Regions from separate parts of the Homo sapiens genome. Here region 2 is linked to region 1. The links are contacts of gene promoters, found by promoter capture Hi-C in blood cells and fetal thymus (Javierre and others, 2016). All regions are on one chromosome and are shown on one strand. Each heading gives the region's core, a stretch centred on a gene start or on the middle of the fragment in contact. The rest is flanking DNA. Distances are from core to core; before and after follow the strand shown. Region 1 holds the start of DUSP23 (dual specificity phosphatase 23). Region 2 has its middle 3.5 kb from the start of OR10J1.

The links. The method cuts DNA at HindIII sites, captures the fragments that hold promoters and counts their contacts. A CHiCAGO score of 5 or more calls a contact.
Region 2: a fragment that was not itself captured here is called in contact with the fragment with the promoter of DUSP23 in region 1 in 4 of 17 cell types (M2 macrophages, endothelial precursors, M1 macrophages and 1 more); the score reaches 6.7 in M2 macrophages.

What each region holds. Positions count from the first base shown.
Region 1 is chr1:159,779,394-159,783,040 of GRCh38, reverse strand. It overlaps DUSP23 (dual specificity phosphatase 23), which reads right to left and starts at 2,079. Exons shown (of 2, transcript NM_001319658.2): 1 at 1,674-2,079; 2 at 498-888. The coding sequence starts at 1,940. The coding sequence ends at 703. RefSeq lists an enhancer at 1,187-1,763 and a silencer at 1,755-2,144. The HindIII fragment of the contact is 4,062 bases long and covers 1-3,305 here.
Region 2 is chr1:159,441,474-159,445,009 of GRCh38, reverse strand. No RefSeq gene overlaps it. Among named protein-coding and RNA genes, the nearest start is that of OR10J1, 3.5 kb to the right of the region's middle. The HindIII fragment of the contact is 2,760 bases long and covers 781-3,536 here.

The DNA.
Region 1 (3,647 bases), core at 830-3,329:
AGCCCAGATGAGCTGAGCAGCACCTGAGGTTGGTAAGAGGTGACCAGCCCTGTGGAGGTGGAGATGGTGGTTATCTGTGAGTGTGACATCCAGGCTGTCTCTACCCCCAGATAAACAAGGGTGACACGTGTGCAGCAGGTGGGCCTACACGGAGGGGCCTCCTGGCCTGTGAGCATCAGAGACCTGGGAATGCCAGGAGGCCAGGCTATTCTGGACCTGAATCCTTTTCATTGACTAGCTCCCCCAGAAAACACATCAAATATTGTCAGGGAACAGATACATAGCATTTCAGCATCTTCAAGGGATTGAAGACGTGTGTTGCTGTTCTGGCCCATCCTTCCACTTTCTAGAAGTGTTGAAGATGGGCCTCTCTGAGCTTTGCCCACCTCATCCAAAGAACAGAGATGGCCCATCTGTCTTTCCTGTATCACAGGGCTACAGTGAGGCTGAAGTAAGTTAATGTGTGGGAATGCTTTATAAAGTACCATGCAACGTGCCCTGGTTCGTAAAACTCATTTATTCAACAAAGCAGTACAAGCCTCCCCTTCAATCAGGACCTGCCTGCAGGGGTGGGCTACTTCAGTGTCTTCAGCCAATGGGAGCTAGAGGGTTTAATACTTTAGTCCACTTCCCTTCATCTCTGGCCCCATCGACAACATGGGGAAGGGGAGTGAGGGCCTGGTAGAAGGGTACTAAGGCCCCTTATTTCGTTCGCTGGTAGAACTGGAAGACTGCTTTCTCCTGCTCATAGGTCTCGATGGAGCCGGGTCGTAGTCGTCGGATTTCAGCAATGGCATCTCCTGCAGCCAAGCCCCGCTCCTTCACCAGGTAACAGGCCAGCATGGTGCCAGTGCGGCCAAAGCCCAGAGCACAGTGCACTCCCACAGCCTACGAAGAGGGGGCTCGATGGGTGCCACTCAACTCCCCCACCCACAACTGTTTCCTGCCCCTCACTTGGTTCTCCCCACAGCTCCTTCTTCTGTGCCAGGTCCAGGGCTCTGCAGCAAAGTCAGGGAGGGCTGTCCCTGCACTAGGTGGCTAGGAGGCCTCTGCACTGGCTGGTTCAAGAGCTGTCCACCTCTACACAGCCCTCCACCTGTGGTGTTCAATACAGAAGACAGTAGCCACGGCTACTGTGGCTACTGTACTCGAAATGTGGCTAGTCCAAACTGAGATGTAGTGTGAAAAACGCAACAGGGTATGAAGAGGTAGTAGAAAAAAGAATGAAAATATCTCATTAAGATCACCAAAGTTAATTTTATCTGCTTCCCTGCTTTTTAAGAATGCCGTTGCTAGAAAAATTAACATTACATGGAGCCACTTAGGTTCCATTATATTTGGACAGCTTTACTCTAGAAAATGGTAAACAGCCTCCACCTGACTTCAACCCCCACCTCTCCCAGGTGTCTGTCCACACCCTTCTCCTTCACAACTCACAGTATTAGCTGGTTTTCACTGCCTCTCCTCAAGCCCAGTTCGCACTGCTTCGCCCTCTCTTTAGTTCCTTCCGTTTAGCGCTTCCCTCCCCCGCACTGGCTTCCCAGTCTCCCGGCCCTACTGTCTGCCTCCCCGAGCCCAGTTAAGTTATCCCAGGCCCGGTCTCCCCAGCTCCGCCCGTGTCCCCCGCTGACCTTCCAGGCCCCTCCCTCCCTGCGCTGACCCCGCCCGCTGACCTCTCCCCGTGCGTTGGCCTCGTCCACGATCTGCACGAAGCGGTCGATCTGGTCGGGGGCCGGCGGGCAGAAGTCGGGGATGCGCAGGCGGTGCAGGGTGAGGCCGGGGCAGCTGTCGCTGTGAGGGGGCCCGCGCTCCGTCAGGGACACCAGGTGCCGCACGCCCAGGTCCAACAGGAACTGGTAGTGGGCGGGGAGCCGCGGCAGCGCCAGTCCCGCCAGCCGGCCCGGAAGCACCCAGGAGAAGTTGGGGGGCTGCACGCCCATCGCTGGGAAAGGGCACAGGACAGCGGGTCATGGGGGCCGAGGCTGGCCAGCCCCGCTCCGCCCACGCGTCCCCTCGCCCGCTCCGAGCCAAGTAACTCACCACCTACCTGGCCTCGGCGCCTCCCGGGCCACGTGGTCTGCAGGGCGCCGCCCTCGGGTCGCTCTGCCCAGCCGCGGGGATTGGCCCAGAACCTGGGGCGGGGCTGGAACGCGGAACCCAGTCTCTGAGCGACCGAGGGAAGCGCCGCGATCCCGCCCCGTCCGAGCAGATCACGCGGTGATTGGCTGGATCATCATAATGGGCGGGGGGTTACTTCCACGGGGTTCAACCCACTCAGCTAAGAAGGAAGACCTGGAGCGAGTTAGGAATTGTTTGCTGCGGATGGAACAACCCGGGGTCGGGCTCTGCTGCACCCTGGCGGCATGTTGCAGTCATTGCGTCACTGGCGCCTGCCCCTGCCTCCTCGCGGGCCGGCCTAGTTCTACCTCCTTCACGCTGGATGCCCTGGGGTTTAAGAGATGACAAATCGGCTTTCTCCCAGGACGAGGAGTCTCCTCTCTAATGATTGACTGGTCGTTATCAGCGACTTTTTGAACTGTTCCAGTAAGAGGGAATTACTGCTGCAAGGAGGCTATTCTCATTTTTTCATTGCTGGAACTATTAAAAACTTACCCAGGGTAATAATTATAGTAATAATAATAACCAGCACCAACTTCTCCTGTCAATCCAGTTGCTCCTCAGGACTTATTGAGCATTTATTATGTGCTAGATAGTCTTCTAAGCACTTAGCACATACTGACTCATTTAATTGCCACAGTAATCTTATAAGATAGGTGATCTAGTGAATCCCATTTTATGGATGAAAAAACAGAGGCACTGGAGAGGTTAATAAACTTGACCAAAGGATGATGACTAATGCCTCCAAAATCTTTAATAATATCGCCATTTCCTAAAGTTAAATGGAACATTGTTTTCTCTTCACATAACCCCCTCATGTCCCCAAATATTATCTGGGTTAAACGCTTGTGGGTTTTCTTAATTTTTATTAGTATTTCATATTTCTTCATTTTTCAAGGTTTCCTAGTTCTCTGGGTCACTGTCCCCTGGGCAGGCTAGAGTTGATTAGTGTTGTTCTTACTAGGTGGGGGCCCCTAGATCTGAACACCGTTTCCACTGTCATCTGACCAGTCCATATCCTCATTTGAATAATGTGCTTCTAGCGATGCAGACTAACTGTAATTATGAAAATAGTTAACCCTTATTGAATTTGTTTATGTACCAGGCCCTGTGCCAAGCGCTTTCTGGAAGAACCACATGTGAAAGGTATTTTTGTATCTTTTTTTGTACATGAATCATTGGAAGCTTAAAGAAGTTGGTTAACTTGGCCAAGGACACAGTGATCCAAGCCCAGGGCACTTGGCCATGAGGATGTATTATATTTCCTTCCCTTTGCACCCACCTATGACACACGTCTGACCATTTAAGCCTTTGGCTTCAGCAAGATGGAAAGCAATTTGTCTTCTCCTAAAGATCAAAGCCTGCTCTGACCCTGTGGGAAATACACTTACCATTTACCCAGACAATTACTTTCCCCAGGTTCCAGGAGGTGCCAAATCTCCCCTTTTTCTCCTTCCAGACAATCACAGCCCTCATTAAGCCCTTCCTGTTTGCACTCTCATTTCCTACATAAATTCCTATCAAGGTTA
Region 2 (3,536 bases), core at 911-3,410, 340 kb after region 1:
GTGTGATGTTCCCCTTCCTGTGTCCATGTGTTCTCATTGTTCTATTCCCACTGAAAGTTTTCTTTTAGTGAATACTGGGATCCCATGGTGAAAGTTTTCTTTTAGTGAATACTGGGATCCCATGGTGGACTTTGGTTAAGAGCCCATTTTTACCAGTCACTTCTCACAGCTACAGCATAAGGAATGGGAAGGCTTGAAGTCAGCAGACTGAATTCAAGCCTTAGCTCCCTCATTCATTAACTCTCTATTCCTGGTTGAGTTGCTTAAATGTTGTGACTCTCAATTTCAAGAGGTCTTTGTGGGTGAATCATTAACTTCTATCTCAGTTCAGTGGCCTTCAGGTTTATATTGTGTCTCCCTACCCCCACCCAGTACAAGTGCATAGGCTTTCCTTTGGGCTTACAGATGTCTCAGAGATATATGTCTGTAGATTGCTGGGGAGGAGGGAGTGTGTGTCCAACAGAAATATTGCAAAGGCATTTAACATATCCTAGCCTCAGTTCTACTAGGCAGTGAGTGAGTGAGGTACTCATGCTTTCTGAAGTCTTCGATGGCATCCACAGAAATAAGAGTTTAAAGTTTGAGTTGCTGGAAGTTTCCTTACATAAAAGAGTCCTGCACCACCATAAAGATCTCAAATCCCTCTATTGCATGATCTGTCCCTTTATTGCTAATGGTGTTTAGTGTGTGCTTGAAGAGAGGTGAGCTGGTTGACTGGCCAAGAACCTGTGTTTATTATTCTTTATTTATAATTTAAAAACATCAATTGGAACTAAAGCTTTCTTCCTTCTGTGCTCTAGTTTAACATTCATTAGTCTACCAAATATATATATATATATATATATATATATGTTATGTTAATATATATGCTACGTTAATATATATTATTTATATATATATATATCAGTCTGTCTGTCCACAGGCCAGACACTTGGCATAATTGACCACTTATTCCCAGCATCTGGCTCCAGATCTAACGCAACACAGTGTCTACTGAATTCTTGAATCTGTTTAAGTAAGGGTTAGGTTTGCTTGTGGAGCTCTAAATGCTTTTCTATGATTTGTTTTAATATTGGAGAAAATGGATACTCATGTTCCCTAAATTCTCAGCTGGTTCTGCATGAATAAGACTTTACAGCTTGTGCTGTGCTGGAGATGCTCTTCCTCATGAGTCCCCACTGGCTAGAGTAAGGGTACCAGGTGGCCCTTTTATATAGGACCTCTCTTGGAAAAGCCTTGGGGATGAGGTTTTGATTTATTTGGAATGTTTGAGGCCCCGGAGAATGTAAATTTTGCCTAGTTTGATTTCTCTAGTACATCACTATCTCCATTGTGAGTCGCCCTTGGGTGAGGATTTATTCTAGGAAAACAGAAAATGCCAGCCAACTGGTGCAAGTTCAAGTTCTGCCTTCACTCCTTTTTCTATCTCAATCTTATTATCTGTATAATGAGAGCCTTATCCTTGTCTCCCTTGAGATTGTTCTGAGGACCTAGTGAGATAATGGTTGGGAAATTGTCTTGTGGCAAGGGGCTACAGTGTGAAAGCAGTGATACAGAGCATGAATGATGACTAAAATAATTCCAAAAAAAGGGATTGTTGAAAACATTTGATTCCATAATGTCTGACTGTTAAGCTATTCTGTTCAAACAAGATTTCTGAAAAACCTGAGTGATAAATGTTCTAAAATTCCATGGTGATGAAATGTTCTGAGTGATGCCCAGCAGGAGCTACATAGCCTTTGGCCCCAGGAGATAGCACTACACACAGATCAAGGCAACCTTACTGTCCAGGTAACAGGCATTTATTTCACTGAACTTCAACGTGCAAAGTCCATTCTTAGCTTGATGAGATTTAGCTTTATATAGATCAGGAAAAAATATCCCGAGGCTTACATTTTTGTCATTAAATATTAAGCATACTTTGTTCATTTCTCCATCACATTGAATTACGGTGAGTTCTGCATAAACCCATCTCCCTTTCAAGACTGGAAACTATTTAAGGGATAGTACAGGGCTTATTTCAAGATTTTTTTATGTCTAGCATAGTATCTGGCACATAGTAAATACTTTATGAATGTTTATTGAATAACTGGTAAACATTTCATGAATGTTTACTGAATGCCTGTCAAAATCTTTACCAGCAATGTTTTGCTTTTTTCAGTTTTTTTTCTTGTCAGTTAACAACTTGTCTTAGTTACTTTTAGCCACCTTATGATGTTCTTAGAGAACTTTAGATATGGTTTTATTTTTGCCATTGACCTTGTTAATCCTGAAAAATGCCCTAGTAGTTCTATTATGGTCTGGAATGCAGATACATGTGTCCTTTGGATCTCGGCTGTTTTGTTTGTTTGTTCGTTCAAAGGCTTTTCTGATTAAAGAGTCCACACTTTCAGCCTAGTAGAAAGTGTGCCCTGAGACCATACTGCCACCAGGTCTGAGGCCCAGCCTAGTCACTGATTTGACAGCAAATCCTTATTCTTCCCTTGGTGCTCATCTGTATCTCAAACCCCAAATCTACATGACAGTCCTGGGACAGCCTCCACTCCATGTTCTCTATGACAGTCTGATTCAGCTTCATCTTAAGTACATAATTATTTCTGTGTATTCTCCCCAATACCTTAGTCACATTTTCTTTTTACTCATGAGCTTTTTGGCTTGCAGTCCAAAGTCTCCCTCCCCCTATATGGCTTTTTAGATATCTCAGGGGAGCTAAGTATGATAAAGATGTTAAGAATTCATATAGATGCTTCACAAACTGAATCCTAGTTCTCCTAAGTCCTGGGTAGTTCCCATATTTAAAAGTAAAAACTGTCCGGGTGCAGTGGTTCACGCCTGTAATCCCAGCACTTTGGGAGGCCAAGGTTGGTGGATCACCTGAGGTCAGGAGTTTGAGATCAGCCTGGGCAACATGGAGAAACCCTGTCTCTACTAAAAATACAAAAATTAGCCGGATGTGGTGACGCATGCCTGTAATCCCAGCTACTCAGGAGGCTGAGACAGGAGAATCACTTGAACCCAGGAGGCGGAGGTTGCAGAGAGCTGAGATTGTGCCACTGCACTCCGGCCTGGGCAACAGAGCAAGACTCTGTTTTTTTTAAAAAAAAGTTAAAGCTGAAATTCCTTAATTTGGCATATGAGGCCTTCAGAATATGACCCCAACCTACCCTTCTGGTTTTATCTCCTTCAATCCCCACCTCTTCCATGTCCTGGAGTCAGCACAACTGAATCATTTTTCGTTACCTGATCAGTCCTTTTGCTTTCATACCTGTAGCTACATTGTTTCTTCTCTTTGGAATTCTTTCTTATCATTCAGACAATCTCTTGTGTTTTAAAAACAGTTTGCATCACAGGTCCCCTCCTCTTAAGACTTCCCTAACATCTCCAACAGTCTCTCTCTCTTCCCCTTTCCTTTTCTTTCTTTTTCTGAGTTCTTCTTTAATTGTGTGTAAACACCACTTACCATAAAGAACTGAAACCATACTGTCAAATGCTTGTTTTTACCACTAGGCTTGTAGCTTCCTGAAGCCAGACAAGAA